Linked DNA regions of Homo sapiens: region 1 is linked to region 2. The links are contacts of gene promoters, found by promoter capture Hi-C in human tissues and cell types (Jung and others, 2019). All regions are on one chromosome and are shown on one strand. Each heading gives the region's core, a stretch centred on a gene start or on the middle of the fragment in contact. The rest is flanking DNA. Distances are from core to core; before and after follow the strand shown.

Region 1 (4,671 bases), core at 1,508-4,007, 210 kb after region 2:
CCACTGTGGCCTGACAGTGCTCCTCTGTTTCCTTCAGTTCCTCCTTGGCTGTCTGCTCATTTTGCAGAGTTATCTGGAACCTCATCACTATTCCATCTGTCCATTCCCATCCATTCCTTAAGGTTTAGCTCAAGTACCACCTCTGGGCCAGGCCTGTAGGCCATGTTAAGTGAACCTGGTGGGGGCCACAGGATGTTTTTCCGGGAGGATTTTCACATTACATTGCTACATGTCATATGGTTAGTGCTAATTGATCCAGACTCCCAAACGGCTCCTTCCACCATCAGGATCAAGGCCCCAATCTTGGGGTCTGTCCATCAGCCTAAGCCAAGCTTTTTTGGACTCACATTTGTGACTTTCTTGGACTCATATTTGGCTCTTTCCAATGCACATTTGAGCATTTGCCAGACAGTTCCTTAAAAATGGAATTACCCTATTCTGTCTACCATACTACTGTCTACTATTGCTTAAGATCCTCCTCTTCTAAGATTATGCAAATTATTTCTGCCAACCTTCCAATCTGTTAGCAGAATCCTGTACTTTCCATTTTTGGGTAGATTCTCCCTTCCACTCTGGGAAATAAAGTGTATGCCGTGAGCCTCAAGGGAAGAGGAGCTTCCTTTGTGAATGCTTCATATTTGCTTCAGCAGCTGCAAGGCTGGTGTCCACTACTAATTCTGACATCGACTTATATACTTTCTTTGAGACTAAAGTCCAGTACCCGGTAGTCCACAGGCAGCCAATAAAGGAAGGGAGCCTGGGAGGTCTGGGTCTTTCCTTACTGGCTGTGGGACCTTGGGAAGTTGCTCCAGCTATCTGAGCCAGGGTCTGCAGACTGAGAGAATAGTCCTTGCCTTGCTTGGGTTGTTGTCAGGTCTAGAGATAACCTGTGTAAGGCTCTGAACACAGGAAATGGCACATAGTAAGTGGCTGAAACATGGTGGGCTGCTTCCTGAGGTTCCCAGGGACTTGACTCTATAAGCTGAAGAAGAGGGGAATGTTTATTAACTCATGGGTGGGAACATGTATTTTGTGATTGTATTTACCCTTCACATCTGTTCAATTAGATTGAAAATTACTGCAGAACCAGTACCAGCTGTTTCTTTGGGGTACTCAAGGGATGATGCAGGGTTGAAGCATTAGAATGTTTTAAAATTCTCTGACTGAGATGGGATGATTCTCTGACGTTAGTATATGGACATAATAGAAAGGCACACAGTAAAAATGTGCTGCTGTCTAGGAAAGCAGGGAAGGAGGCTCAGGCTGGCTCCGTTTTCCACCTCCTGGCTCTGTGCCCATTTCCCTGCAGCTCACCGTGGCCACCAGCCGCTCCCGGTCCTCCGCCTTCCCCACATGGCACACGGTGCCCGTCACGCTCAGCCCCTCCCCCTGCAGCGTGGCCACCGCCTGGTCCACATTCTGCTGCTTCCGGCTGCTGACGACCACATGGGCCCCGTCCTGGGCCAAACGCCGGGCGATGGCGAAGCCGATCCTGTGAGCAGAAAGAGACAAAGACTGCTAAGGCCTGTGCAGGGGAAGAGGTCGACAGTATGAGCTCTGAAGTTAAGACTGCCCGGGTTTGAATTCTGGCTCTTTCTCTATATAACCCCTACGTGTGCCTACTATGTGTAAAACAGGCTTAATGGCATGGCCATTTTTGGCATTCCTTTACTTGTTTTTATTATGACCTGGACCACAGCCTCAGTTCCCAAGAACTGACATCACTTTCTACAGTTCCCACCATGGGTGACAGGCTTCATCCCCTCTTGGGACTGAGAGGTGAGAAATGAGCTGGGTTTGCAGCAGCAGCCACTTCCGTGATTTGAGGGTCTCACTCAGAACAGCCCTGCCCCCAGGTTTCTTTCTTACTCGTCTACATCATTCTCAAAATTCTATCCTTAGTTATTTTTTGGGGTGCATGTGAAAAGATGGTCTCCGGTCAAAAATGTAAATATTGCCTTGGGAGGAAGAGTTACACATTTTGCATTTGTCAGCTATTAGCATTTTACCTACATTTGTATTTTAGTTTTGTGAAGAGCTGGCATCTAGCAAAGTCCTGTAGAAATGAGGACCAGGATAGACAAGAATGGTGGGTGAGAAACAGGCTGGGCAAGGTCGGCCCAGATGTACCGACCTAAACAAAAATCTCGACATATGGCTCTGGTGTCCCATCTAGGTAAGGGGGAGGGGTTCCGGGGGACTTTCCGGTGCCCAAATAGAATGTCTGGTACATTTTCAAAGTGCTGGAGGCCGTGGGATAGTATTTTGAAATCCAGATTTCCTTGGATTTCCAGTTTCTGGTCTTCCCAGACGCTAGGTGGCGCTGGTTGACTGGGGCAGCCCAGAACACTGGGGAGACTAGATCGATAGGGCTGCACAGAGGTGGCACAGTTGTGCCAGAGGTAGCAGGGACAGGAGGGCTGGCAAGGGAGGGTCCAGGGCTAGGGGATTCGGAGTGGCTTCAGGCGGACCACGTGGCTACCTTTTTTCCAGGGCCAGACTTTGGCAGCGTGTAAGGTCTGAGGACAGGGGCACCGGAGGCCGAGGATGAGAGGCCAGTGCCTGTTTCCAGGCAGCCAGGGCCTCAGAAACTCCGGCCGGAGCACTCACCCGTCGGTGGAGGCCGTTACCAGGGCCACCTTATTTGCGAGCGGGTCCCGGCGGGTCATCCCGGAGCTGGCCATCCGCACCGAATTCCAAGCCCGGGCACAGAGGCCTAGCAGCCCCGCCTTGTGCATGGATCAGACCAGCAAGTATGGGTTCCACTCTTCCCAGGGGCGGTGACAGAGTAGGGCGAGGGGCAGGACGAAGGGCGGGCCGATTCCCTGCCCGCCCTGCTCCCCGCCCCGGTACCGCTGTGAGCGGTCTGTGGCCCTGGGCACCTCCATCCGCCGCGGCGCCCCTCCACCATCTACCTTCCGCCTGACTGGGGCTTGCCTTTCCGGGCTGGCGGGTGAGCTCTCCGTTCAAGTTGCCTGTAGGGCTCGCCCCTCCCCTGGCCCTTGCAGGAACCCGCAGGCTTTGGCTGCTGCCTTTCTGCATCTGCTTGCCCACCTTTTCTTCTCTGGGAAGTGGGGGTTTTGAGTTGGTTGCTTTTGCTTCTTCAGAATTCCTTCTCCAAGAAAGTCTGGGTCTATGTGTGTGACAGCCCACAGGAGGGCAAATGTTTTGAGACTGCCCATGGAGGTGAGGCCTGTGGTCGCCATGGAGTCCACCAGGTGAGGCTGGAAGAGCCTGGGAGAGAGACGTGATAGGGAGTAGCTGCGCCAGGCCTGGCACTGCCCTTCACTCTGCCCAAGGTCTCTTCCATCTTCACGGGCCCTGGAGGGCAGACTATGGTCATTGGCCAAACAGCATTCTCATGTCCGTTGACAAAGGGACTTCCTCCTTTACAGGGGCTAAGTGGTAGCGAGGAGGCTGGACAGTCCCTCAAGCAGTGGTGGAAATGCAAAGAACTCGGGGCACTCAAGTTCTCCCTAACCACTCTGTCCCCAGGTCTTAGCCGCCATCTTAGTTCAATAAATATTTGTTGAATGCAAAATCTCTTTATGAACTGTAAGCTACTAAGCACATAGTAGTTACTGCCACCATGTAGTGATTATTATTGGTGCCCTGGGCCAGACTCTTCATCTGTAAATTACTGAGGGTATGGATGATGAATAAAGTCCTTGCCAGCTATAAATTCTGTGTCCAAGACTTCAGTCTGCACTTCTGCCAAGTGGGCTGAAATGATCTCCCTCCTGGGTTTCCGGGAGAATGAAGAAATCTGGATGGCTTATGGTACAGTGTAGAAAGGCCCCAACAGACCCAAATGCAAGCATCTGAATTGGTTTAACCCACTGGCCTCCAAAGCCAGACTGAGAAGCAGTGCTGGTTCATGGCAGCGTTTTCACTAGTTCAAGGCAAAATGAGAAAAGGAAACAATTACAGTGAGTTTCATAAAGCTAAGCTTATTTAACAGTCCTTTATTGTGGAGTATACGTTTGCTTCTTTTTGTGTGTGTGTGTGTGTGTTAGTGTTTTCTTTTAGAAAAGATGATGAAAGCAGATGGGTAGGTTTAGAGATGTGTTATTGGTGAAATCACCAGTTTGGCAGCCTTATGCCAGTCCCTACAATTAAAGGGGAAAGAATCCTGGTTTGTGAAATCCAGTTCTAGGCATGACTTTTGAATAGAATTCATGTTTGCTCAAGATTCATTTAGTATATGTGCAGGTAAGCTGAGCAGCTGAAAAAGGGTTTCAACATTCAAAAGGGGGTGTATGGTGAGCAAGTAATAGAACGGCCTGCACTGGAATTCTAGTGTTTTCCTCAGCCAAGAAGTTACAGCTGCAATACTCTGCTTTGCTACTCAGCAGATCCCGATGAGACAGGAGAGCTTCAGTATAATTTTCCCCATGTCCAGGGAAGGCTGACTCTGACTGGTGCTCCTCAGTCTGAGCCTCATGAATTATTGACAGAGGCTGGAAGCGCCACACTGCTTGTCCTCTTGCACTGTTTGGAGCTAACGCACTGTGGGAACCCTTCCCAGGGCTCTCCATCTGTGTGTGCGGCTGGGGGAGGGTACACAGGAGGACGGCTGCGGGGGTTCTCAGGGCTTGGTTCAAAGGGACAGGCCTGCAGGGGGCGTTTGATCTCTCTTTCCCTTCTCTTCAGAGGTAGACAGGTGGACTC
Region 2 (4,496 bases), core at 1,997-4,496:
GGCTTCCTCTCAGGTTTTCCTATCACTGAGGCAAGTAGCTAGTATGTGATTCACCATGAGGCCTCAGGGCTCAATGCCCAGGGGCTTGTAGTTTACTAGAAGGTCCCTTGAGATTGGGCCTCTGTTTGGCCCAATGAAATCAATGTCTCAATGTAGATTTCCAGGAGAGTGTATAGGGTGGTATTTTTGGGAAGCAAGCTTTTTGGAGTCTGGCCAGGCATATGGAATTCTCGCCACCTAGAAACCACTGCCTAGGGCTATGGTAATGTGGGTACAGTTTGCTGTAAGCCCTGACTGACTAGATAATGCATGCATAGTCAAAGGTGGAAGACCTCAGGGGCACAGGGCACAGGAGAAAGTCAGAAATGCCACGTACCTGGCTCTGGAGGAAGCAGAAACTCCAGGGACCTCTGATCCCCTTGAAAGGGGGCCTCAGTTGTGTCTGTAACTGGAAGGGAAGCAAAGGCACTGGTCATTCAGAGTGGGACTGGGGAGTCTTGGGCCAGAGGGTGTGGCATGGGGGACGACACAAGAGGCAGGGCAGGTGGTACCTTCCTGTGGCTCAGGGCTGCTGCTGCTGCTGCTGCTCCCAATGTCTGAATGGACTGCTCCCCCACTGGCCCCCTCCTCCTCCTGCGGACACAGTGTCTTTTTATTTTTTTTCTCTTTTTTTGAGACAGAGTTTCACTCTTGTTGCCCAGGCTGGAGTGCAGTGGCGCGATCTCGGCTCACTGCTATCTCCGCCCCCCGGTTCAAGCGATTCTCCTGCCTCGGCCTCCTGAGTAGCTGGGATTACAGGCAGATGCCACAACGCACAGCTAATTTTTGTATTTTTAGTAGAGACGGGTTCTCACCATGTTGGTCGAGGCTGGTTTCGAACTTCTGACCTCACGTGATCTGCCAGCCTCGGCCTCCCAAGACACAGTGTCTTTCATTGGCCCACCTCTCCCTCTGGTTACTGTCCTGCCCTTAGGCCCACCCAGTTCCCTCTCCATCTCTTACATTATTGAGGGAGTCCTGGAGCACAGAGGGACTGAGTGTGCAGTTCTGCATGGCATCCTCTTCCTCCTTCCTCTCAGAGGACACAGAACTGTGCTGTCGCTTTGATGGTACTTTCTGAGTCCCTGGCTGGCCTGTGGAATTGTTGAGGGACAGAGAAAGGTCAGGGTCTTGAGCAAGGACAGAGGGTGAAGGAGAGGTCTGAGGCAGTGAAGGATGGGCAGGTCTAGGAAGGGAAACCTGGGTTGCAGCCCCCCAAGGGCATGGACAGGGCAGAGCTATAAGCCTGGGGGAAGCCTGCACATCTATCCTTCCTCCCCAGTCTGCTGAGTCTAGCAGTGGTTGGACAAGGGGAAACTCACCAGAGACGATTCCTGGTGGCAGCAACTGATACACCTTGTAGGGCTCAGCAACATCCATGCGGCCCCTCTCAGGAACCTCCTTAAATTCAGAACTCTTGTTGAGTGCACAGCGCAGGCGAGTCTTCCAGACAGCTGGACCTCCTGTGTCCCCCTCCTTATACTTTCCCTTAAATATTGCCCAGGCCTAGGAAAGAAAGCAAGGGAAGAAGAGGCAGTGTGTTACAGGCTCCACCTGCCCCTCCAATAGGACTGGCTTTACAGGCGTGCAGCTCTGAGCTCAGAAGGGATTATGCAGGGTCTGTGCTCTGCGTTGCCATCTTGAAATCCTTGGAAATTTTTTTTTTTTTTTTTTGAGACAGAGTCTCACTCTGTCACCAGGCTGGAGTGCAGTGGTGCGATCTCGACTCACTACAACTCCACCTCCCTGGTTCAAGCGATTCTCCTGCCTCAGTCTCCCGAGTAGCTGGGACTACAGGCATGCACCGCTAGGCCCAGCTAAGTTTTGTATTTTTAGTAGAGACAGGGTTTCACCATGTTGGCCAGGCTGGTCTTGATCTCTTGACCTCGTGATCCACCCACCTTGGCCTCCCGAAGTGCTGGGATTACAGGCGTGAGCCACCGTGCCTGGCCAATATCCCTAAAATTTTTGAACAAGGCCTCCACATTTTCATTTTGTACTGGACTCTGCAAATGATGCAGCTAGTTTTCCTCTCCAATCTGTCCCTTATCTGAAACCCAGGCAGACGCAAGTGCTCGAGGATGAGTGTACCAGTGTGTATACACCATCCCACACACAGAGGAACAGTGGTTTCCAGGCCCTTTCACCTTGAAGAAGGCAGCATCCTGGTCCTCCCGGAAGTCCTGCTTGCCTGCATGTTTCCAGGGAATCCGGAACATGGTCTTAGCTGTATCATCCCAGCACACTCCGGGAAACTGCCCACTCTCCACTTGCTCCACCACCCAGTTCCGGAGTTTTCGGGTGCAGCGTGCCCTGCCTGATGCCATCCTGGGGGATAATAGGAGCAGGATGCATCAGAACTGACACTTTGGGAGGGAACATCTCCTGAGACCCTGGCCATTGAGACTAGATTCTGGCAACAGGTCCCAGAGATCCCATCCATCTTCTTTTAGCTCCAAACACATTTCAACACTCTATGGGACAGAATTGTTTCCTTTCTGCCATCACTAGCAGTGACAAACAACAACAACAACAACAAAACCCCCCAAAACATTGTTTTTAGCACTCTAAGCTGTGATACCTGGAAGGAAACCTTGGGCACTGGTCTTAATTTTAGGACTTTTCAGAGATGTATTGTTTACAAAAGAATTCCTTTGGTGATCGTTCCTGGTGACAGGCCCTGTCTAGATTCCCGAGCATCAGCAGAGGTAGGTTCTGCTGAGATCCATCAGGCTCTTCACCCACCGCCCCACAGCCTACACAACCTAGCCTGACCCCCACCCCCTGCCGGCCCCAGGAGTAGGTGGGGCAGGAAGTAGGGGTGGGGTTGGAGCTGCAGCAGAAGTGGGCAGGGCCAGATGGCAAGGAAACAAATGGTCCACTGAGGCTGGGGCCAGGAGCCTTCTTCCTTGAACAATCCAGCAGTAGGTCCTCCTGACCTTTGCCTACAAGGGTCTGGGGAGCTGGCCCTTGTCAGTCTCACTCTCAGGCTGAATCTCCCACTTCCTGACTTAAGAGATCTTCTGTCTATCCCTCAGTCTAACAGAGCGACCCCTAGGACCCCCTGCCCTCAATCTGGCTGGACTTTCTAGCCCTAGATCCCAGGCTGACTCCCATCCTTGGCTGATCTTACCTGAGTTGCTGTCCAGGCTGTCGCAGGGCTCAGACGACCTCAGCTTAACTCCTGGCTGGGCGGCTGATCTCTCCGCCCCTTTCTACAGTCCCCACCCTAAGTTTCAGTTCTCCTCCAGGGAGGGCCTTTTCCCAGAAATCACGTGGTCTGAGTTGCAGGGAACTGGCGGCCACTAGAGGGCAGCAGCATCTGAGCATCTCACTATCAGGATGCCACTGTCGCAGCAGGGGGGCCCTGCCCTGCTGGCTCAGCTCCAGCCTGGCTCATTCCCCTGCCTCCCTCAGATACTCTTGCTTCTATCTGACCTCTGGGTGACACCGTGGCTTCCCCAGGGAGGCCAGTTTCCTGGAGTCAGGCCTGGGACCTCTGGACTGCTGTGTACACCTGTGCATCTGCATTCCCCCACAGTGCCCACCTGATACATATTGGGTGACTTCAAATACCAGTCAAATTCTATGAAAGGAAAAAAGGAGGCAGGGAGGGAGGAAGCCCAGGCCAGGCTGCTGGATGGGGAGGGCCTCCCTTGACCATCCAGGGTGTCAACTCCTTCCTGGTCCTGAGTCCAGGGAGGGTCAGGCACTAGGTTGCAGGGGGCCCTTTTCAGCAAAGCTCTGTTCACCCCGCTCTTTCCCTGGTGCCCCTAGATGGTGGCACCAGGAAGAAGGACCACCAAGAAGCCTGGGTGGTAAGATGCCTCTTTATTGGTGCTGGAGCTGTTCCTGAGGGAGCAGGCCATGGGACCCTCATCGGGACCCTTGCCCTCAGCTACTTCCGCCTGCGGGGGATACTCTGTCCCAAGGGTACCTCTTCTGTCAGCTTCTGCAGAAGGAGAGAGAAGGTAATGATATTGGAAGCCTGGAGCTCAGACACAGTCAGCACCAGGTGACTTCTGTAGGGTGGGTTAAGAGATGAGGCTGGGTGGAGGCTATACCTGTAACAAGCGGGCCTGGTAAGCAGGGGGATCCTCTCCAGCCAAAGGCTGGGGGCGTACGTGCAGGTAGCGCTCAGTGGCCGTCTCCAGCTCTTCCACCTCATACAAGGTGGCTGGGTCCAGCGAGTGGGCATTGATGAGGCTCACAAGATACTCTTTGTAGTGTGCCCTGGGGAGAAAAGGGAGCAGAATATTTGTTGTGTTGGCTAATATTAACTGAGTGTGTCTAACATAGCTGGACTCTGAGACACCTGGACGAACAAGATTAACAACCCACCTGTGCCCACACTGCCTGCTACTATCTACCCATGCCCTTGCCCAGAAAGCCTCCTCCCTCCCACCCACTGCAAGACCTACTGCTCCCAAGGACCCATTTTACTGCCTGGGCATGCC

The links. The method cuts DNA at HindIII sites, captures the fragments that hold promoters and counts their contacts. A contact is called where the count stands out against the background at its distance.
Region 1: the fragment with the promoter of DHRS4 here is called in contact with the fragment with the promoter of IRF9 in region 2 in 2 of the 25 tissues and cell types used here (neural progenitor cells and thymus).

What each region holds. Positions count from the first base shown.
Region 1 is chr14:23,951,856-23,956,526 of GRCh38, reverse strand. DHRS4 (dehydrogenase/reductase 4) reads right to left here and starts at 2,757. Exons shown (of 8, transcript NM_021004.4): 1 at 2,611-2,757; 2 at 1,315-1,492. The coding sequence starts at 2,738. It overlaps DHRS4-AS1 (DHRS4 antisense RNA 1), which reads left to right and starts at 1,415. Exons shown (of 2, transcript NR_023922.2): 1 at 1,415-1,779. RefSeq lists enhancers at 2,116-2,245, 2,296-2,425, 3,036-3,235. The HindIII fragment of the contact is 7,990 bases long and covers 1-4,671 here.
Region 2 is chr14:24,160,015-24,164,510 of GRCh38, reverse strand. It overlaps IRF9 (interferon regulatory factor 9), which reads right to left and starts at 3,246. Exons shown (of 9, transcript NM_006084.5): 1 at 3,173-3,246; 2 at 2,187-2,367; 3 at 1,362-1,545; 4 at 1,003-1,133; 5 at 552-633; 6 at 377-448. The coding sequence starts at 2,366. RNF31 (ring finger protein 31) reads right to left here. Exons shown (of 21, transcript NM_017999.5): 20 at 4,104-4,272; 21 at 3,856-3,991. The coding sequence ends at 3,938. RefSeq lists enhancers at 2,081-2,140, 3,130-3,519. The HindIII fragment of the contact is 9,939 bases long and covers 1-4,496 here.